Regions from separate parts of the Homo sapiens genome. Here regions 2, 3, 4, 5 and 6 are each linked to region 1. The links are contacts of gene promoters, found by promoter capture Hi-C in blood cells and fetal thymus (Javierre and others, 2016). All regions are on one chromosome and are shown on one strand. Each heading gives the region's core, a stretch centred on a gene start or on the middle of the fragment in contact. The rest is flanking DNA. Distances are from core to core; before and after follow the strand shown.

Region 1 (3,673 bases), core at 662-3,161:
GAGAACGCAACATGCAAAGCCTGGGAGACCACACTAAACATCTTGATCTTATCTCAAGGGCAACAAGCAGCCACTGTACGTTTTTAAGCAGCAGGGTGCTGGGAGTCAACTTTGGCTAAGACTTGTACAGGGCCAGTCTTTCAGCAAGTGCCCATGACTGAGAGCCAGCTCCCCTCAAGCACAATGCTAGATGCTGCTCTAAAGTTCACCAGCCCCTTCCTTTACCACTTAGCACCACCTCAAAGGTGTCTCCTCCTCCTCCTCCTAAACGGTCTGTCCTTTAAATCATTTATTTCTGGCTAGGCGCAGTGGCTCACGCCTGTAATCCCAGCACTTTGGGAGGCCGAGGCGGGTGGATCACGAGGTCAGGAGTTCGAGACCAGCCTGGCCAAGATAGTGAAGCCCTGTCTCTACTAAAAAATAAAAAAAATAGCATGGTGGCAGGTGCCTGTAATCCCAGCAACTCGGGAGGCTGAGGCAGGAAAATCGCTTGAACCCGGGAGGCGGAGGTTGCAGTAAGCCGAAATTGCGCCACTGTACTCCAGCCTGGGCGAGAGAGTGAGACTCCATCTCAAATCATTTATTTCTAAATCTTTGTACATCCGTGTGGTAAAAGCATTTTGTCCATGCAGTCTGAATAATCGCTTGCAAATTATATTCATTTACCACTGTGCTATTAGATACAATACAAAAGTCACAAAGTTGGGATTTTTATTTATTTATATTTTATTTTACTTTTTTGAGACGGAGTCGAGCTCTTGTCACCCACGCTGGAGTGCAATGGCGCGGTCTCCGCTCACTGCAACCTCCGCATCCCAGGTTCAAGCGATTCTCCTGCCTCAGCCTCTCGAGTACCTGGGATTACAGGCGCACGCCACCACGCCTGGCTAATTTTTGTATTTTTAGTAGAGTCAGGGTTTCACCATGTTGGTCAGGCTGGTCTCGAACTCCTGACCTCATGATCCGCCAGCCTCGGCCTCCCAAAGTGCTGGGATTACAGGCGTGAGCCACCGCGCCCGGCAAAACTGGGATTTAAAATGTGGAAAAGTTAACTCCAATTTGAACGTACATTACTTTATTACTACACAGGAATAGCTCATCTTCCACTTTAAAGACTACTGGAAATCACCAGAGCACTTATTTTCACCTCTCTATCTTCCCTCAATATACAGTTCACCTTTCTTGCTACAAGGTAAACTCCTTGGGCAAAACTGAGAGATTGGGTCACCTGTGCCTCCCTCCCTCCCTAACCTCCAGCATTCCTCCTTCCTCAGCTCTTAGTACCAAGCTGCGCCTGGTAACTTAAGTCAATTTCCGCTCTTAAGAGTCCCTTTAGGATCGTTTAAAGGTGAAGCCCAGCGGAAAGGATACAGGATACAGCAGTGAAACTCTCAGCTCCGAAAAGGCTTGAGCCTCTTACTAAACATGCAGGGATGCAAGAAACGGTGCTCGGGGATGAGACTAAGGACCGGCTGGGAATCTGGAAGGGTTCCAAGTTTGGGGTTTAGGCAAACTTCGGGTTCACGTTTCCACAAACGTCGAGTTTACGCGCCCCCGCCAGCAGACCTGAATTGAATACGGGCCACGGGGAAGCCTAAAGCAAGTGACTTACTTTAAGCCTCAGTTTCCCCATTTGTGAATTAGTTGCTCGGATCCCTGGAGGAGATACGCGTACGCGCAGTTCACGTTTCAGAAAAAAGGGAAGGCTAGGGACAAAGACGCCCATGTCTTATATTACCTCGAAAGATGACTCCAACTCGTCCACCAAAGTACTGCTGGAAGGTCTAGGAGCGCCTGGAGCTGCCTGAAGAAGCGAAGCTTGGCCCGGAAGGCCCGGCGGGGCCTGAGGGGGACCGGGTGGCTGCCCAGAAAACATACCCCCTAGTGGAGCCGCCATGTTTGGAATGGCGCAAGAGAGATCCACTGCGCCTGCGCGGAAGCCGGCTCAGAAGCTCACGTGGCTGGTGTAGTAGGCGTGGTCACGTGACAGGACCGAGCGATGGGAGGATTCTGGTGCACCCCGGAAGGAGGATTTTTAATTCTTCTGTTTTCTTGTCTATCGCAAAACAGAGTTTACATGTATTTTCCTTTTTTCTTAGCTTAAGAATTGAAGACTTTGGCCGGATTAGACCTGGTTGTGTGGAGAGGAGAATTAATAACTACAGTGGAGCGAGCCCTCCTGCGAGAGTCAGGATACTACTATGCTAGTCCCGACTCTGCCCCAAATGCCTGGAGAGACTTTGGCTAAGTCACTTTTTCTTTCCGCGGGCTGTTTACCGTTGGTAAAAGGAGAGGGTCACCCACTCACTCCACAAACATTTGTTGAGTCATTGGTTATAGCGGGAACAAGACAGGCAAAGTTCTTCCTGAATTCTGGTCGGAGATGGATAACGGAAACAACTTTGTTGAGGTTCCCAATGTGCCCGGCACTGATGTCTTTAAATATTTATGGTTACATCAAAGAGAAAGTCACTATGCTAATCTTTTTTTTTCTTTCTTTTCTTTTTTCTCAGGGTCTCGTTCTGTCGCCCTGGCCGGAGTGCAGTGTCATGATCAGGGCTCGACCTCCCGGGCTCAAACAATCCCCCTACTTCAGCCACCCAAGTAGCTAGGACCACAGGTGCGTGCAGTCGCGACGGGCTTTTTTTTTTTTTTTTTTTTTTTTTTTTAGTTGAGTCAGGTGTTTTACTGAGCTCAAGTGATTCTACCGCCGCGGCCTCCCAAAGTGTTGGGAATACAGTAATGAGCCAAGGCGCCAGGCTGCTAATTTTTTTTTTTTGAGACAGAGTCTCGCTTTGTCGCCCAGGCTGGAGTGCAGTGGCGCGATCTTGGCTCACTGCAAGCTCCGCCTCCCGGGTTCACGCCATTCTCCTGCCTCAGCATCCCGAGTAGCTGGGACTACAGGCGCCCGCCACCACGCCCAGCTAATTTTTTGTATATTTGGTAGAGATGGGGTTTCACCGTGTTAGCCAGGATGGTCTCGATCTCCTAACCTCGTGATCCGCCCGACTCGGCCTCCCAAAGTGCTGAGATTACAGGCGTGAGCCACCGCGCCCGGCACTAGGCTGCTAATCTTGTAGTAACCTGCTTTTAACATTTGCTTATCTCTCTCTTTTTTTTTGGTGACGGAGTCTCGCTCTGTCGCCCAGGCTGGAATGCAGTGGCGCGATCTCGGCTCACTGAAACCTCCGCCTCCTGGGTTCAAGCAATTCTCCTGCCTCAGCCTTCCGAGTAGCTGGGACTACAGGCGCCCGCCGCTCGGCTAGTTTTTCTGTATTTTAGTAGCGCCGGGGTTTCACCTTGTTGCCCAGGCTGGTCTCGAACTCCTGAGCTCAGACAATCCGCCCGCCTCGGTCTTCCAAAGTGCTAGGATTACAGGCGTGAGCCACCGTGCCCAACCTTCTTATTTATCTCTTTAAAACCAAATAACTTTTTTTCATTATATCTGATTTTACAGTTATTACCCAGCACACTTACTGAGCGCTCCACTTCCCAGGCACTATTTAATGATCTGGAGGTTATAGCAATCATCCCAAATCTCTGGAAGGAGACAGACAAGCACATAAATACATAGCAATATTGTGCAGAGAGAAGAGCTGGGAAGGAAAATGAAACCCAGTAAGGGGATGGCTAGTGAGAGGGGTGTTCTTTGAGATAGGTGATTGGAGGAGGC
Region 2 (3,673 bases), core at 491-2,990, 1.9 Mb after region 1:
TATTACTATATATGGATCATTTATCTCTTAGAAGCAATTGTCTTTTAACTATTCCATTCTTTCATATTCTTACTATTCACGTTTCAATCCCCCCTTGAAAGTTTGTAACACTAGTTCAGTTACTATTGTATTAAAAAGATATTTTTAAAGGGTTTACTCTCCCTCCTAAATCAGACAGTTCATCTATAGTAACAGCAGTGGCAGTATATTAGGGAACAGGTCTGGTAGATGTGGTGATGAAAGCATGGGGAAGTTTTTTTTTAACTCAATAGGATGTGAGGTATCATCTAAGTAAGAGGCCGAAGTAGAAAATGTTGCAAGTTTGTCAGAAGAAAATATGAAATATTAATAATTGTTAAGGAATGTGATAATATGATGGACTAGGAAAATGTTTTTGGATTTTTAGTCTGGCTGGTTGTCTTACTTGCTTAATGCAATGATTGTTATTGTTACAATGCTTGATAGTCTAAAATTCCCCGTCACTAATCTTTTATATCCTAAGATATATCTCTAGTGCGCTGTATCATCTTCTGAAAATACAGCTCTAATCAGCTTCCTCATAACTGGAAAAGCATTTAATGGCGCCGAGCTTGTGTAAGCTCTTCAGGATAATATCCTTTAAGCTTAAGCCTCATCTTTCCAGGTTTCTCCTTCATCACATGATCTCCATACATTCTACATTTCAGTACTAAAAGTATGGAAATTCTTGAAATAGTTCATGCACTTTCATGTCTCTGCTTTTGGCTAGTATTCCTTTTGCCTGGAATACTCTTGTTGGGTCACATGAAGTCCTATTTATTCTTTTCTACTTAGTTCAAATGCTACAGCAGCCATGCATTCAACTAACATTTAGCTACCTACAGTGCCTAAAGTATGTCAGGCACTGGAGATACTAAACAATGAACAGTGACATATTAAAATAACAGAATATCTGTTCAGCTATTAAGATGAATAAGGTGGAGTTACACAACACTGACAAATCTCAAAAACATTATGTAAAACAAGCTAGCTGCAAAAAGATGTACACATTACAGATTGCATAAAGGTGGTTAGGAGAGTGGTTTCCTTAGGCAAAAGGAAAGAGAATGAGACGGGGTAGAGCTGACAAAGGACTTCAATCACTTATATAATCATTTATTTCTCCAATTCAGTGGTGAGTACACATGTGTTATAGTTTTGTTTCTACCTTTTTTCTGTCTAAAATCGTCTATTTAAAAAAAGCATCTTTAAGGCTGGATACCTTCCTGAAGGCACTGGAAATCTGTCATACTGCCACTAACTTAAAATTACCTTCCACCTCTTGCATTTCCCTTTGTTTCCTGTTTTGACATTGCGCACACATTAGTTAGTACACTAGGCCTTAAGAGTGGAAACTGCCAGGTACCAGCTTTAGCTAGATTAAAACATGACCCTCTTCCCAGGAGACTCCTGACCGGTTTTCTCGTCCTCCAGGGACCCAGCTAGGATTTCAATGAACTTTGGCCTGAACCCCTCGGCCGACCCTAGAATAATCGCCCTTCAGGCCCGGATTGCTTCTGCTCTCACCTTCCCTCAATTCATACGGGGGGCAAAACCAGACTGTATTTCCCGCAACGAACCCTGGAATGCTTCGCTTTAGCGGACTCCGGTCCACTCCCATCAGAGGATGCCCTTCTTTCGCCTCACCTCCAGCCCAGCCGCAGCGACCCGGCCGGGCCCAGCGCTGCAAGCCTCAGGTCTCTCCAGCAGAGCTGCGCCTCTGCTCTCCCCACACTTCCCTCCGCAACACCACTTCCGGCCTACCTCACAAATTCCCCATTCCAGCCGAAAAGAACTGGATCGGCCCTCTGCGCATGCGTGAGACCGGGGCGGTGTCCGGGGGTGCCGGGAGCGGGCGGTGCAGGCTCCACTTTTCCACTTCCCTACGCTCTGTCGGCAGTCTCGCGGGATTTCCGCCTCTCGCGGGAGTTATTTGAATGCCAGGGCGGTAACGACTCCCTAGGCGCCTGGGGCCCTCTGACAAGAAACCCTAGGAGACACCGCGGAGAACTCTGCCTCTGAGCTGGTGGGCGGGCCGGATGTAGCCGAGCGCGGACAGGGCTAGTCCGGACAGAGTCCCAGAGCCATGGGAGCGAAAAGAGACTGCTGCGGATTAAGGAGGCCTTTCGGTTGGCGCAGCAGCCACACCACAACCAGGCGAAGCAGGTAGTGGCGCTGAATCGCTCCTGCCGCGGGGTAAGCGCTCCCGGCCCGCGCCCGCCCCAGCCCCGACCTGGCGGGGCCAGGACGCTGGTTCATACACTCCAAGGTGATTTTCATAGTCTTTGTGGAAGAATTAGAGAATTTTGAACTTTGATATCATTGCACGTGTTTACTTATTTAGAGAATCGCATTGTGTTTAATAATCATAGTATTCCTGTGCGACTCTTTAGGTTAGCAGATCATTGATTTTTAACATAAAACTGCATTTCATTAAATAGATTTAAATATGTATGTATATTTCTGTCCTCTAATGATTGTAACAAAGCAGATTTCTTGATCATTAACAAGATAGGTTCGTGCAAATAAGTGCATCTTTGTCACAAACCAAATTTTTTTGTGGTTGAGATATATATTTATATATATATGTGAAACAAAAAACATATAAAGGAGAATATATATATATTCTTATATATATAATATATACTGCTTTATTTTTTTGGGTTGACATATATATGTCATATATAGTTTTTTTTTAAATTCTACCTTAAACAGGGAAACATGTTAGATACAGGAGCTTGAATTTCAACTCTGAAACTTAATGCGACTTTATCAGCATTTCTCTTTCTCAAGCTACTTACTTCTTGTAGGATTACACAGTCAAATTTTTAAAAATTTTTGATTCTCCAACTGGATTTTTTTTTTTAATTTTTGAGACGGAGTCTCACTCTCTCGCCCAGGCTGGAGTGCAGTGGCGCAGCCTCGGCTCACTGCAACCTCAGCCTCCTGGTTCAAGCGATTCCCCTGCCACAACCTCCCGAGTAGCTGGGATTACAGGCGACCGCCACCATGCCAGGCTAATTTTTGTATTTTTCAAAAATACAAAGACGGGGTTTCACCATTTTGGCCAGGCTGGTCTCGAACTCCTGACCTCAGGTGATCCACCCACTTGGGCCTCCCAAAGTGCTGGGATTACAGGGGTGAGCCACTGCACCCAGCCTCTCCCACTGGATTTTTAAAGCTGTTTTTTGATTAGCAAATATTTCTTTTACATGGCTCAAACTACATGAAAAGAAATGCAGCAAGAAACACTTCCTCCCTAGTCCCTATCCAGTACCATTCCTAATAGTCTTCACGGGTAATCATTTTAAATTAGTTTCTTGTTTATCCTTCCGGTCTTCATGCAGAGATACAAGCAGATGAGAATATACAGTCTTATTTCACTCGGTCTCTCCTTCAATATTTTCTGCATTGTTCATGTTTTTTTTTTTCCTGTTTTACTGTATATTCTGGATATTCCTCCTTATCAGTATTCAATTAAACTTATTTTTTCCTGTCACATACTCCATTTTGTAGATATACTCCAGTTTATACAGTAAATCACGCGTAGGTGGACACTTGGCGTTGTTTCCAGTCTTCAGATATTAGAAACAACTCTTCAGTGAATACATGTCATTTCTACATTTGCAGGGGTAACTGTCAGATTCTGAAAAGA
Region 3 (3,673 bases), core at 598-3,097, 1.4 Mb after region 1:
AACATACTTTTTTTCCTGATTGGAAAACTGACTGAACTGAGTATGATTTGTTTATCTTTCATTAGTCTTGGCTGTTTTTGTTTGCAACTCAAAAGGTTTTCTTTTTCTCACCTTGAAAGAGCAGATCTTGTTCTGGTTCTAGCCAGCGTAGAACATATTAGAAAGTTCCTAACCAGAAGTTCTACTCTATGTGGATTTGGTTAGACTAAGTCCTTTAAATCCAAACATCTGTTAATTTATACAATAGAGTTTACATATTGCGTGCACTTAACCCATGTGACTTCAACTGTAAATGTATTGAAAAGAGAAAGTACGACACATGTAGATAGATTCCGCCTCCTGTTGCGTGAGGCTGGCAAAGGTGGAAAGAAGTCTGCTTTCTTCTTCTGTTTCAACTCCAGGTATCTCTCATGGTAACACTGACTCCCCAGACAGATTATGAATCTGGTATTTAAAGAAGTGTGTATGTGTATGTGTGTACATACACATATATATGGAATAAACCCTAACATAAGCAAGCCACTTGACATAATACTCAAAGAACCAGGAATCCGTTTTAATGCTGGAGGAAGTAAGCTGTTGTAGACCTATTGTTTAAAACCATAGTCAAGTTGGCTTCTAAGTCTTTCCAAGGGCTTTTAAGGAGATATATATATATATTTTGTTGTTGTTGTTTTGAGACACAGTCCTGCTGTGTCACCTACGCTGGAGTGCAGTGGCGTGATCTCGGCTTACTGCAACCTCTGCCTCCTGGGTTCAAGCGATTCTCTTGCCTCAGCCTCCCAAGCAGCTGGGACTACAGGCGCCCACCGGCACGCCCGGCTAATTTTTTTTTGTACTTTTAGTAGATAGGTTTCACTATGTTGGCCAGGCTGGTCTTGAACTCCTGACCTCGTGATCTGCCCACCTCGGCCTCCCAAAGTGTTGGGATTACAGGCGTGAGCCACCGTGCCTGGCCAAGGATATTTTTTACTATAAACGCTTCCCCCCTCACATGTAGGCTTTAGATCATAGTACTCCTAGAAGGTGCAACTCCTTAAGTAGATCTGCATAAATGAAATCAACCTTCCTCCCTTGTCATTTTTTGGAGGGAACATTAAGACCACATTTGGTAGAAAGGACCACAAGGCCAGCTCAGAGCAAAGAGAACAGTGGACAGTTGGAAACCTTTTGGTAACCTGCGTTCTGGAAGAGAGTTTACCTCCTGCAGAGTAAAAGTAGGAAGCTGTAGATGAAGTAAGGGGTGCTGAGGGTCATTGAGGGGATGGGCTATCAGGGAAGTGTAATGCACTGGGAAGAGGTGGGGTCGAGCATCCAGAGCCTTCGCTTCTCACCTCAAGCTTCCAGTTGTAGTGAGTGGAAAGTATATAAATAACTTCCTTTGACCTTGTTTTTCTCACCTGAGATGAGATAACTATGGAGTAATTTGCTTTAGAGGAACAGAGGAAAAACACGGGTGAATGGAAAGATCCAAGGAAAGGGAGGTTTTTCTGATCCGGTTGAGGTTGCACTTCGCGTAATAACTATTGTGAGTATCATGTTGGTAAGTCTTCATGTAGGGAAATGGCATTATTTAGATGTTTGTGCAGGATCTCTGAGGCTAAACTAAGAAGGGAGCTGGGGCACCAGTATCCATGTAGTTCATCCAGGATGGTTCTTGGACTAAAGTGGTGCCCGTTGTGTGACTTTGCTCCCTTTTGACTCTATATATTGCTCTATTTTATATATTCTTGACACCTACTGATTTTCCTTCCATGTCTGTCAGTCCAGGTACTGTATCACCTGTAAGAACCAAGACTGAGCTCTTGAAAAATACTTTTCTGACTATTCTAGCCCTTAATAATTATTCCTTTCCATATTCCTGTGGCATTTTCAGGTTATACCACAAAGAAGAATACTTTTCTCAAAAATACTTGCTGATCATTGTGTGCAGTTCTAGGCATAGAATTATAGATAACATTTATTTTGGTCTCTTTGTTTTATATGTATATTACCTGTGGCCCCAGCTAGCGTGGAAGTTCCTTGATAAATACTGTTCTTTTTGTTTTCTGTCATTTTCTTTTCTGTAGAGCTTTCATTGTTGAGGTTCCTCAGTGCTGAACTAACAAGAGGGTACTTCCTTGAACATAATGAGGCCAAGTATACAGAAAGAAGAGAAAGAGTATACACTTGTTTGCGAATACCAAGAGAATTGGAAAAGGTACTATTTTTTCTTCATTACCAGACATCATTTTGAAAGTTATGTCAAAGTATTAATTATGCAAAAAAATGGTCAACAGCTAGAGTTGAGTTTTTTAAATAATTGAAATAATGTTATTGGGGGAGTAGAAATTTCCTTACAGGAAGAAGCTTTAAAGTTACATTTTTTAGTGTAAGACCCAGTGATAGGATATTAATAGATCTATCAAAATCTGAACTTTTCTGCCTATCATTATCATTGTGTGCTACATCAAAATAACTTTTGTAAGGAATTAATCTCTACTTCTGTACCCTTTTAGTTCCCTTCAGTTCTCTTTTACTAGAAACAGGTTTTTTTTCCCCCATTCAGCATGATAAATTATTTAATTTCAGCCTTTTTAAAGGTTTCAGTTTCTCAGAAAGCCCACATGTTTATAAACATACAGGACAGTCTCTTCAAAGAAAAAGATGGTTTGTTTAATCTTTATCACAGGAAGCATCACATTACAGGGTGAGTGTAGTAACAGCAGCACTACATCTTCACGTGTCTTATTCCTTGGCTGTGCCTTATCCTATCAAGACCAATAAAATAGGCTGGGAAAGCAGCCCCTTCTCCCCTAGGCGATGCTAGAGTTGGTGAGTCTAAGCAATTCCAAAATTTCTTGCTAAAAGAAAAGAAGAAATAATTCAGCTTCAGCTATATTGAAACATGTTTTCATACTTCTGTAGTAACGTAAATCTTGTAATAGTCCAGTCGTCTTCTTAGAATCATACTTTCTGTTGGAGTGGCTATCAGAAGAGTTTGGTTGGCTGGATTTATTGGTACATTGTAGTAACAAGAGGTACTGCAGGCAATGAGGAGTAAGGACCCAGCTGGTTTGGCTGATGTTCTATTTCTGATAGTCTATCAGTTTAATAGAAGAAAAAGAGCGAAATGTAGAGTGACAGTTTCAGAAATGTTGCTTTATGTAGGTTCTTGGTGAAGCGTCACTTGCTGAAGTTTTAGGGAGTTCTGTATTAGGGTGGGATTTAGAGAGCTGGTGAGCAAGCAAAGATTAGAGAACAAATATGGCAGTGGTTTGATTGCCTTTGGCAAGGATCATTAAATATGCTCAACTATTACTGTATTCCTGCATTTCTAGAGGACTAGAGTTCCCTGGGGGGGCCTGAGGGACTTACAGATAAGGAGGGAGGAGGAGTGGGCAGGGCTCTCCACAGCACTCCTCTCCAGCGCAGCAACAGCTCTGTCTTATACATTGAGATTTATCGAAGATTTTGTTTGGGGAAAGGAGTAGGGTAGGCGGATGTTTCTTTTACTTGGAAAAAAATAAAAGATTAAACCAGTTCTTGTGTCTTAAAAGACTGTTAGCTTGCTTTGCAGCTTTCTTCCAGCAATAAGCCATGAGATGGAAGTGTGAGGACACAGTGCAGGGGAAGTGGGAAGGACAGCCTGCCAGGGCCTGTATTTGGACAGGATAGTGCCAGCCACAATCAG
Region 4 (3,673 bases), core at 495-2,994, 1.4 Mb after region 1:
CATTACATTAATTACATTAATTAATTACATTAATTTAATTTCATGTAATTTGATTTTATTTTTACTGTGTAAAACTGTGTGTTTATCCAGCTAGTAAAAATAAAATCAAATTACATGAAACTAAGTACTGTTCAGAAAAAGAATATCTAGCCAAACATGTCAGATAATAAATATCAGAACTATAATAAATATTAAAATTGAGTATTTAAAAATGGGTTGCAGCACTAGAAATGAATTATTTATATTAAGACAATTGTGTTATTACACTGCTAAGTAGATGGATGAAAGGTCAGAGTGTAATTTAAAAGATGATAATGACCAGCATGTGATTTAGTCTCAGTTTTCTTAGCAATTGAATATTTATGTGTAAATTATACACGCCAAATTTGTAACCCCAGTGTATATCTGTCAAGAGTGGGCATATGCTTAGGAGAACATGAATTAACGTTAGTACCAGCTTAGGCAATGTATAATTAGGAGGATAAAATTGTCACAAGAAAATAATGCTTGCTAAAGCCACAACATGTTTTCTTTTTATTGCTATTTCAAAAAATTAACCACATTCTTCTATTCTCCTCCATGAAACTGTATACCTAAGTTATAGTATTTATTAAGCATCCACATGGAAGACAAGCAGGTAACAGTGGTTCATTATTAGAAATTGATACTAAATTGGAAAATGTCAGAAACAAGAGAAGCATTTTACATATAAACATAGGCTTAGAACTGAAAAGAAAACGGAATAGAATAGATGCATATAAAAGAGCAATTTGAAAATCTAAGGCCTTGAAATCAGATAAACTAATTTCTAAAACCTGGAAAGCAGAAACCCTGAGATTTTTGAGAATCTGAAAATTTATCGTGCATTTCCAATAAATTTTGGTATGAACGCAAAAGAGAGAGATAAATACTTGGGTTTGCCTAAAAGATAACAAACAATAGATCCTTGTAAGAGACTGCTTTCGCTTTTTAATATCTCAGAAACAAGAGGAGAAAGAAAAGGAAAAACTGTCAGAATGGAAACACTGATTAATGAACAGGATGAAAGCTAATTACAAGAGCAGGATCACAGCCCAAAAGAGCTTAAAGGGCATCGATGTCAAGAGAAAAATTACTCAGTTACCTTAATCCATCATAGTTCAACTAGAAACACTAGAAAAAAGCAAAAAATTATCCTGAATATCATGTAAAATCTTCTGATTACCAACTACTATTTGATGAGTGGCCAAACGAAGCAATAAATAACTTGCCACTGGGGAATAACAAAAAGAAAAAAAAAAAAAAACTCTGAAAGGCAAAATTCAAAAGGACTAGCAACAGGAACTGGGTGATAAATAAAATCTCCCCTGCTTCCTGAATTCCAAAATGAAAGCCTTTGCTAGCTAGAATTATAAAAAAGGATTTTTGACAGTTATCAACACATTTACTAGAAGGTCTGAATTTATTCTGCAAAAGGATTCTTGTTAATTAACCGACTAAATGATTAATACGGTTTGAAACAACCTCTATTTATTTTCATCGTGATAATGAGAAACACTTCTTTTTTCTTAGAGATAAATCTGGAATGGAAAGTCTGCTGAGTCATTACCAGGGCCCCTTTCATCAGTATTTTGAAATTTTCCAGAAATTTAAAGTACAGCACAAAATAAATTTTATATCTGATCATGAATAAAAGGCCCTATAAGCCAATAAGCCATGAAATTATATAGGTTCATACACTTTTATTACATAAACAGAACCTACCTTTAGGTCTTCAGAACATAATATCCTTCATAAAACACCCCTTTTAGCAAAGTATTGTTTTCAAAAAGTCCTATTTACAATGGTTTCTGTCATATATTTGCACGTCAAAGAAATGCTTTTAAAAATGATGTTGCTCATGACAGTTTTAGTTAAGGTGTAACAGTTACATTGGAATCAAAGGCACATTACTTAATTTGTGTTACATCTTCCAGAAATAAAGCGAACTGGTGTCCTTTACAAATCCATGGAATAAAGCCCAAAGAGAATAAAACGTAATGAGCGTCAGTCCAAAAATGATTGCCAAAGATAGAAAATATTACTACTGAAACTCAGAAATTCAAACTCACATTAATTTAGTGCAAAGGCTTGATCTGGGTTCAGTGGTATATTTTATTTCTTTAGAACATCAGCTGCAAAGCTGTTTAGATCTTTCAACAACATCAACTCTTCTTTTTGACGACAAAATGGTGAATGAGTTAAATTCAGAACTACAGTTTGTGAAGAAACATGACATTTATGATTCATGAAATAGAAGTCATGTAATGCTAAAATAAAGTTTCAACTGAGAAATACAGATTTAATTAAAACTGTGCTCTATTCCGTGCTTGAATCCACACTATGAAAATCAACTGTACATTGATTACTGAGTAATCATCTCAAATATAACTTCAGGTGCTGTTTAATGTCACCTTACAGCAGAGTTCTTAGACTCAGGTGTGCATGGGTACAATACTGGAAATTTGTTCAAAATGTAGAAACCCTGAGGCCTGGTGTGAGAAACACAGCCTTAGAGTTCTGGAAGGTCACTGAGAAACCATCACTTCTCCTCATGCCAAGGAATGAAGGACTAATGCATAGAACATAAAGGTACATAAAAACTTACATGTCTTTGTTGTGTTATCAACACAAGTATTGCATTTGAACTCTATGCATTCAAATCTTAGACTCAATTACAAAGTGACTCTAAGCATTTCATATTTTTCTACAAATGTTGATAATGCAGGCCTGTCTACTATTTTTAACTCAGAAGGGAGGTGCATGGAGTTTAGCCCAGAATTTTGGAGCTACAAGGGAGGATCGGTCATTGAGTCCAATACTCTACAGGTCAGAAAATGAAGCAGAAAGGGGTCACCTGTGCTCCTTTGGTCAAAGACTTTAGTTGAAGGGTCAGAGAGAATCCAGGCCATCTCCTGACTCGGGATTCTTTCAAGTTAGCAAATATGTGATGTTTTTATTACTCAGGAAAAGTGTACAGAACTACTTTCAAAAGTACTTTAGGGACAATACACTAGAAGTGTTATCAAGAGATAAATTGCTTTGTAGTTAAAAAGTGAAAACTACAGCCTAAATGAAAGGAAGGGAGAATAAAAGGAAAATCGTTATTTTTTTCAGCTTTCATTATACAAAAGATGTTGCCCCAATTTACCAATGAAAAGACACTGAGGGCCACAGTGGCCCTCTGAGACCCTCTTTCCAGGGTCACATAGCTGAAATATGTGGCCAAAACAGTATCTTTCCCAAGGCTTGTAACTGTAGGCCCTTGTACTACACTGTGCTATACCTGGTAGAAAAGAATATAGATATACAAACTAAAAAACATCACTTATTTTAAAACTTGTTATTTCATGAAATGGCAGACCATAATGATTTGGTGTGGACATTAAACAAAAAGAGTTTATATGCCTCATTAAGATAATTTTCTGGAGCTCTGAATCCATGGTTTATACATAATGGGTTCAGTATATTTTGTTTAGCCACAAAATCACTATTGTTAAATCTTTAATTACTGAAATATGAAGTTACGCAATTTATTTTTGAAGTCTGCGTATGCTACTCACCAAATTTTTGTTGTTTAAAAAATATTGTTTTGCAATTTTCAAAATACATTAGCCTCATAGTGCATATAGCAATCTTAAGACTTTATCAACCT
Region 5 (3,673 bases), core at 592-3,091, 1.4 Mb after region 1:
AAACTTACTTGAAAATCCAGGGTTTGGGTGGGAGAAGAGTGAGAAACAGTGAAAGGGCAATCTGAAGCCACATCAGGGAAGGTCTTGGTTACAAGTCAAGGACTTTGTATACTATTTGGTCAAGAACTGGAAGGCAGTCAAAGTTTTTGAGTAGGAGAGGTGCATAATTATAGCAAGGCTTTAAGAAGACTAAGTGGGCAGCAGGGTGCAAAATATATAATCTAAGGAGAATTTGGGAAGGAGATAGTTCAGTTAGAGGCTCCTGTATAGATTGGAAGAGGAAGTAACATTAATTCATGTCATCGCAGTGGGACTGGAAGGAAAATGACATTTGTATAGTGCTTTAGAGTTTACAAAGTTCTTGTTGCATTAATTACTTCATTTGATATGGCACTTGTGGAAAGTAAGTTAGCTCAAAGAAAAACAGACCATAAGACAGTTTACAGTCAATAAATGTGAAATGAATAAACATAAGACTCTAAAGGGCTCGGTGACTGCACACAGGAGGGAATGCAAGTGAGGAGTCAAATATGACTCACAGTCTTGAATAACTGGAATTATTCATTCATCAAGTATTTGTTGAGCTTTTGCTATATGCCAGGAAAAGTGCCAGATGCTAGGATTGCAGCAAAGAACATGGTAGACGAAGACCCTATTCTCAGGGAGCCAATGTACTAATGAAAGAGAGTATCAATAGATATATAAAGAAATATAAAACATCATATGGCAAAGGAAAAAACAAATCAGGGTAAGAGGATAGAGTCTGTGGGGGTGCTTTTTTAGATATTATGGTCAGAGAAGGCCTCTTTCCAGAAGTGACTATTGGGCAGAGACCAGAAGAAAGCCAGGCAGTGAGCCATGTGAAGTTCTAGGAGAGAAGTATCTGGGGCAGAGAGAGTAGCATGAAAAAAGCCCTGAAATGAGTGTCCATCTGGTGTGTTCAGAAAGTAACAAGGGGGCCTGTGTAGGCAGCAGAGTCAACAAGGAGGAGGTGATAGGTCATGAGCCCAGAAAGATAGCCAAAGGCCTAATCCTCAATGGTCTTGTAAGCCAAGGTAAGTACCTCTGGCTTTTGTTTGGAGGAATCATTTATAGAGAGCAAGAGTAAACAGATACCAGTAAGAAGGCACCATGGGAGCCCAGGGAAGGGACAATGGTGGCTTGAACTGATGTAGCACTGCTGGAGGAGATGAAAAATGGCCAGATTCCAGATCTATGATCAGGCAACGCTTGTAGGATTTTTTTTTTATCAGATTTGATGTAGAGTAGAAGAAAAAGGATGATTCCAGAGTTTGTACTTAGAACAGCTGGGTAAATGGTGGTGCCCTTACCAAGATGCAGTATGGTGGGCAAAGACAGCAGGGGCTTTGCTTAGCCCCTGTTAGATTTAATAAACCTCTTGGACATTCAAGTGGAGATGTTTTGAAGGAAGGATGTGATCATGGAGTTAGGAGGAATGTCAGGGTTAGAGATATAAATTTGAGATGGCTTTACCACCATCAAAAATAGAGAAACCAGGAGAGAGAAGCAGATTCACATACCGTATGTATTCACATTCAGTATGTATTAAGCACAGAAAAAGTGTGTGAATCCACTTACTATGTGTTAAGCACTTTTTTAGGGCCTGGGTGTACAGACATCAAAGACATACTTCTTCACTTCCAAGGGCTCACAGTTCACCTGGGAATACAAACAAGTAAGCAACCAGCTACACTTTAGTATGATACGATCTATAACAGAAGTTTCCAAGGGGTGCTATAAGAGACAGCAGAAGGGCATCAGATGCAGGAAGCCTTCCTAAGGAAAATGATACACAAGAAAAATTTGGAGGGTTGAGGAAGGAATGTTTTGGGACAAAAAATTCAGGCCCAAGGAGAAGGATGTTTCGGGGGACAGAACGTAGTTTTCAATAGCATAGAGGCATTTGAAACGTGACATGTTCGTGAAACTGCAGTTATTTGACATGACTGGAAAAAAGAGTGCTTGTAGAAGAGTGGTAAGAGATGAAACAGGAAAGGTGAGCAGGGGATAGGCCAGAAAGGTCTCTTTAGCCCATACTGGGGAGTCTGAAGGTGAAGAAGACAAGTTTTGTTTTAGAAATGCTAAGTTTAAAATACAAATGCATGCTGCTCAGGTGGTAGATGCACCAAAATCTTACAAATCACAACTAAAGATCTTACTCATGTAACCAAGCACCACCTGTTCCCCAAAACCTATGGAAATAATTGTTCTTTTCCAATCACTCTGGGAGCTTTTAATAGGCACAAGTGCTGCAGCCCCATCCTACATATTCCAACATAATTGTTCGGGGGTAGAGACCTGACATTGGTCTCATTAAGATGTGTTTGTGTGTATATGCACAATATACATGTATATGTATTACATATGTATATGCATTCATATATATATACAGTACATATGTGTATGGATTCACATTTTTACAATACATATGATTATCTCATTTCTTTCTATAAAAATAAAATAAAATACAAATGGGACTTGCCTAGCAGGTAACAGAAAATGGGAGATTAGAACTCCAGGGGAGGTCAGGGTCAGATTTATATTTCTAGTTATGTCTGTATCTGTCATATTTCAAAACCTCTGTCATAGAAATCATCATTGAAGCCATAGGAGTGAATTAAATATCCAAGAAATAGAAAATGCAGAAAAAAGAGAAGTAAGAAAAGAACAGTTCTGTAGGCAGACCCCACAATTAGAAGACTGGAGAAGGCCGGGCGCGGTGCCTCACGCCTGTAATCCCAGCACTTTGGGAGGCTGAGGCGGGCGGATCACAAGGTCAGGAGATCGAGACCATCCTGGCTAACACGGTGAAACCCCGTCTCTACTAAAAATACAAAAAATTAGCCAGGTGTGGTGGCGGGTGCCTGTAGTCCCAGCTACTTGGGAAGCTGAGGCAGGAGAATGGCGTGAACCCAGGAGGCGGAGCTTGCAGTGAGCCAAGAATGCGCCACTGCACTCCAGCCTGGGTGAGAGTGTGAGACTCCGTCTCAAAACAAAAAAAAAAAAAAAAGAAGACTAGAGAAGTGGAAGGGGAGTCATTATGGAGCTCAGGGAAAGAACAGTCAGGAGGATTTAAGAGCTGGAAGAGTACAATGTCACCATCGCCATGGAAACAGGGACTCATGAAAGGGACAGTGGTTGACAATATCAAACACAGAGAGGTTAAGGAGGGTAAAAATGGAGAGAAGGTCATCAAATGTGATGACCACGTGGTCCTTTGGTGACCTTTGGGAGAGTAATTTAGGAGAAAGCAGGGGTAAAAGTCAGCAGCAAAGATGTTGGAGTAATTAGGTTACAAAAAGTGAAAACAAGGAAGGTGGACTTTACTAAGCATTCTTTTCCAAGCCCGTCCCATTTTCCTGCCTGGCATTTGCCTTTTGTACTCCACCTTGACTTGACCTTTTTCTCCTGGCATTTTGTCCTGTCTCTCTTACTTCCACTGTCTACTGGCCCCCTGTAACAGCATTCCTTGCCAGCAACAATTCTAGCATTCAGCCAACTAGCAAGCTATGAACTGAATCACCAAGTAGACTTTAACAGATAAGAAAACAGATCAAAGGTTACCTTGGTGAAACATGTGTCATGATAGATTCTGTATAATGAATGGAATCTCTTTAAGGACATTTCTGACTGGAAGAATCCCCACCTGTCT
Region 6 (3,673 bases), core at 877-3,376, 1.3 Mb after region 1:
CTAATTCCCAGAGTCGCCTCCTGGGGGCAGGAGATGATGGTTGAGAACTCCGAAAATAGGGGAGAACAAGAAAAAAGAAAACTGCTGTTAAGTCATCCTCTTAAATCCTACTTTTCCTCTCATTCTTTCTTCTATTATCCAAGTTTTAATCTTACATGACCACCTACTTGGTCTATTGTAATAGTTTTCAAGTCAGTTTCCTGCTCACTCCCTCCTCTTCCCCATTCATACTTACCTCTTCCCCATTCTGTGCAATATCAGTAGAAAAACATGAAGTTCTTCCCTCCCACTACTAAAGTCCCAATACTTTCTACTTCTGTTCTGAAATACCCAGAGGCTCCTTCCCCAAGAAGCTTCCTCTCACCATTCTGTACAGTCCCTAGGAAGTGCATGGTCCAACTTGGCCATTTATATTCATTCTTCCAAGGCTCCCAAGGCTCCCAAGGCTCAGAAGAATTGGGGTTTTTTTGCTCCAGCAGCAGTGCCCTGAATTTTGTGAAGTTCCTGTTGCTTATACTTCCACAGTAGACATAGTTTATGTTCGTGGCTCCTCCCATCCTATTTTTAAGCTTGATTCTCCAGTTTCCCTCTTATTACCTAATCCATACATCCCTCTAACAAATTCCCCTTTTATAAGATCTTGGCCAGAGTTCATTTTTGTGGCTTTCCAAAGAGGAACCCTAACTGATACACCTCTCCTAAGAAATTTAAGCCAGATCCACATGGCTTCCCCTGATAGGAGGGAAGACAGTCATGATTATCTGGCAAATTGGGGCTGTTTCTAAGGATTGCTTGCGGTCATTTTAAATTGGAAAATATCCTGTGAGTAGATGACATAATCAGATGCAGTGGAGGTAGTGGTTAAGAACCAAGCTCCGGAGCCAGGCCTTGCGGGTTTAAACCTCACTTCCTCCACTGAATAGTTGTATAACCTTGGGCAAATTGCTTAAAAGTGAAATGGAGAAAGCAAGAAGCCATTCCTCCTGGGACTGCTACAAGAATGAATGAGCTGTACATGTGGAATTCATAGAGCAGAGCCTGACACCAGCAAGCATTTGTAAGCATGTAAAATGTGATTATTAAGACTTCTGAAAAAATAGGCTCTGTGAGTAAGCAAATAAGATTTTTAAAATAATGATTCAATAAACTTACCTGACATCCGTATACAGGTAATTGTATAGCATCCAAAGTAGTCACCCTGGGGCTACAAATATTCTCATGATGTTGCCATTATTCAAGGGTTGTTTTTTTTGTCAGAATTTCTCCTTTAGAATTTTATTTAGAATCTGCCATACATAGGTTTGATTGCCCTTGTTCCAGCAAAAAAGGGATTTAGTTACAAAATCCCATTGAAAATAATGATTAGAATATGTAGGCTCAGTGTGTGACCATTCTTCCTTCTGGTCACCCAAGCCTTGTGCTGCAGGTAACCACAGAGGTGAGGAACTATGAATCTTTGCCCCTGTGAGCCTCACTGGCTTGGGGAAACCAAGTCCTGTGGAACAACTCCAAGTGCTTGCCTGGAAAGACTCTAAGTCTCCTTAGCTGCCTTGACAAGGTATCAGATGGCTTCCAAGGAAACCTCAGTCCCAGAAAATTTTCTTGGCTCTATGTCCCATCTCACTTCTCCTAAAGGTCTTGATCAGTGAGTGCTGCTACTACCACCACCGCCTCTTGGTCCTTTGCCAAGGCTTGGGTGGGTTGCTCCCCAGTCCTGTCTGTAGTGCTTTCTTAAGCTCTCCAAAGGTATCCAGAGTCAGTCCATTCATCATAGCCCCTGACACATGTTAACTTGAATCAGTTCCCAGCAAACTGAATCTATGGGGTAGCTGAAGGTCCAACCAATGCCTTATTAAGTAAGGTTTAACCCTCTGCACTGTTCAGGATTTGAAGATAATTGAGAGTGAGAAAATTTAGCTCCCAACTGCCAATAAGAGCAGGAAATCAAAAAGCCCATGGGCTCCCATCCCAGTGCCAACTGATGCTGTGCTTTTTATTCAGGACTCCCCAGTGCTGACAGATGTCTTGGTTGAGGGGTAGTGGTGGTAGATATCATCAAGGCACAGGTGTATTTCAATGTATGTGTGAATCAAAGAAACAGTGTTTGAGTAGAAGCAGGCATTGATGATCCTGTTATGATCCCAAAAGATGGTCCAAGTGACCAAGTCCTATGGTGAACACAAGTAGTGGTACAGTCCTCCAGTAGTAACTACTTTTTAGGGATACTGGCTCACCAGTGATGCTGCCTTAGGAGGCCTCTGAGCCAAACCAGTCAGGCTCTTAGATGAAAGCTGCTTCAGTTCCTACAGCCTCAGAGACAGAGACAGATGATTGTCTCTGAAGCCAGTATGGACACAAAGTGCAGCTCAATGAGTGAGAAGAGGCTTGGGAATAGATGAGTGGTTCTGCTGCTCACCGCTGGGAAGCCTAAACTCCAGAGACAAGGGTTGGTGGGAGGAAAAGCAGGTTTATTTGGAGAATCAGCAAACCAAGAAGATGGTGGACTAACATCCTAAAGTATCATCTTAACTTGGTACAAATTTCAGGTTCTTTTCATGTTAAGGGCAGGGGGAAGAAGAGGGAGTTGTGATCAAGAGGTGACAAATGACTGCAGACATCTGAGCACCAGTGAGGGTTGGAGGAGGTTGGGAACTTCTTTGTCGTCAGTCAGGTCACAGTGTACCCGTATATCTTTAACAAAGTACAGTTAATTGTTTACCTACTTTCCCTCTAATTCCAGAGTTAGTTACAGAAACTCCGTGACTGCTGTTTTTGCATATTATCTCAGTGCTCTAAAATTATCCTAGCCTAGGTGCAGGAATGGGTAAATGCTCCTTAAATAAAAATGGAGTTAGTTATGTTAGTTCGTTTGCTGTTTCCCTGTTACAATAAAAGCCAGGGCTGTTCAGAAACACGGCTACAGTTGGGACTCTCCTGCGAAGACACAGGCTCCAGGGAGGTCATTCCCTACCTGTGCAGGGAAACAGTCCCTGAAATGAGGGCGGAAAACAATAGAGGAGGCCCATTCTCAAGGCCCTTCTGGATTAGTGACCCACAGCATGAGGCTCCATGGAGACACCTGCAGCACTTACAAGGCAGAGCCCAGTGGGTTTCAGTGACAACAGGTTGGTATAGGTCTCCTGCCACAATTTTGACACCGAGCTCCTAACACCATCTTGGCAGTCTCAGTGACCATTTCTTCAGCAATGTTGCTAAACTTAAGCTAGTTCAAATTAACACCCAATTTTTTATAATTTCTCCTTTCTCAACTACCAAATCTTGTTCACATATATAAATTGCTGACTGTATGTATTAATGCTTTATTTTGAATTCTACAAATAAATATTCTTAAGGAAGATTCATCTGTTTTCATTTCTCATATTGTCCTTGTTTTGTTTTCAAGGGGAGATCAGCCTTATAAAATGAACTTAAGAACTTTGTCTTTCTCTAGTCACTGGAACAGTCTGCATAAGCTAGTGAAGAATCTTTCTTCACAATTTGATGGGCTTAGTGTTGAAAGTTGTCTGATCCAGGTGAGTGACAGCGTGTGTGTGTGTGTGTGTGTGTGTGTGTGTGTCTGTTTTTGAAGACAAATTCAATTTCTCTAGTGTTAACAGGACTTTTCAGATTTTCCATATTTTCTTAAATCATTTCTGGTTCTCTACGTTTTTCT

The links. Contacts are between HindIII fragments. The CHiCAGO score rates a contact against its expected background, and 5 or more counts as called.
Region 2: a contact is called between the fragment with the promoter of FAM200B here and the fragment with the promoter of MED28 in region 1, in 1 of 17 cell types (total CD4 T cells). The highest score is 5.7, in total CD4 T cells.
Region 3: a contact is called between a fragment that was not itself captured here and the fragment with the promoter of MED28 in region 1, in 2 of 17 cell types (activated CD4 T cells and total CD4 T cells). The highest score is 8.1, in activated CD4 T cells.
Region 4: a contact is called between a fragment that was not itself captured here and the fragment with the promoter of MED28 in region 1, in 1 of 17 cell types (fetal thymus). The highest score is 5.6, in fetal thymus.
Region 5: a fragment that was not itself captured here is called in contact with the fragment with the promoter of MED28 in region 1 in 1 of 17 cell types (M2 macrophages); the score reaches 5.4 in M2 macrophages.
Region 6: a contact is called between a fragment that was not itself captured here and the fragment with the promoter of MED28 in region 1, in 2 of 17 cell types (M1 macrophages and M0 macrophages). The highest score is 9.2, in M1 macrophages.

Annotation. Positions count from the first base shown.
Region 1 is chr4:17,612,879-17,616,551 of GRCh38, reverse strand. MED28 (mediator complex subunit 28) reads right to left here and starts at 1,911. Exons shown (of 4, transcript NM_025205.5): 1 at 1,739-1,911. The coding sequence starts at 1,897. MED28-DT (MED28 divergent transcript) reads left to right here and starts at 1,972. Exons shown (of 3, transcript NR_186331.1): 1 at 1,972-2,410; 2 at 2,514-2,620. RefSeq lists enhancers at 1,762-1,871, 1,972-2,261, 1,367-2,566. The HindIII fragment of the contact is 7,436 bases long and covers 1,821-3,673 here.
Region 2 is chr4:15,679,894-15,683,566 of GRCh38, reverse strand. FAM200B (family with sequence similarity 200 member B) reads right to left here and starts at 1,740. Exons shown (of 2, transcript NM_001145191.2): 1 at 1,666-1,740. It also overlaps a transcript of FBXL5 not described here. RefSeq lists enhancers at 1,471-1,520, 1,531-1,770, 1,941-2,240. The HindIII fragment of the contact is 4,207 bases long and covers 626-3,673 here.
Region 3 is chr4:16,212,295-16,215,967 of GRCh38, reverse strand. It overlaps TAPT1 (transmembrane anterior posterior transformation 1), which reads left to right. Exons shown (of 14, transcript NM_153365.3): 2 at 2,070-2,200. Among named protein-coding and RNA genes, the nearest start is that of TAPT1, 12 kb to the left of the region's middle. The HindIII fragment of the contact is 1,009 bases long and covers 1,343-2,351 here.
Region 4 is chr4:16,229,677-16,233,349 of GRCh38, reverse strand. The region is part of intron 1 of TAPT1-AS1 (TAPT1 antisense RNA 1); the gene reads right to left. Among named protein-coding and RNA genes, the nearest start is that of TAPT1-AS1, 4.8 kb to the right of the region's middle. The HindIII fragment of the contact is 8,035 bases long and covers 1-3,673 here.
Region 5 is chr4:16,250,632-16,254,304 of GRCh38, reverse strand. The region is part of intron 2 of TAPT1-AS1 (TAPT1 antisense RNA 1); the gene reads right to left. Among named protein-coding and RNA genes, the nearest start is that of TAPT1-AS1, 26 kb to the right of the region's middle. The HindIII fragment of the contact is 3,832 bases long and covers 1-3,673 here.
Region 6 is chr4:16,267,478-16,271,150 of GRCh38, reverse strand. No RefSeq gene overlaps it. Among named protein-coding and RNA genes, the nearest start is that of TAPT1-AS1, 43 kb to the right of the region's middle. The HindIII fragment of the contact is 3,109 bases long and covers 572-3,673 here.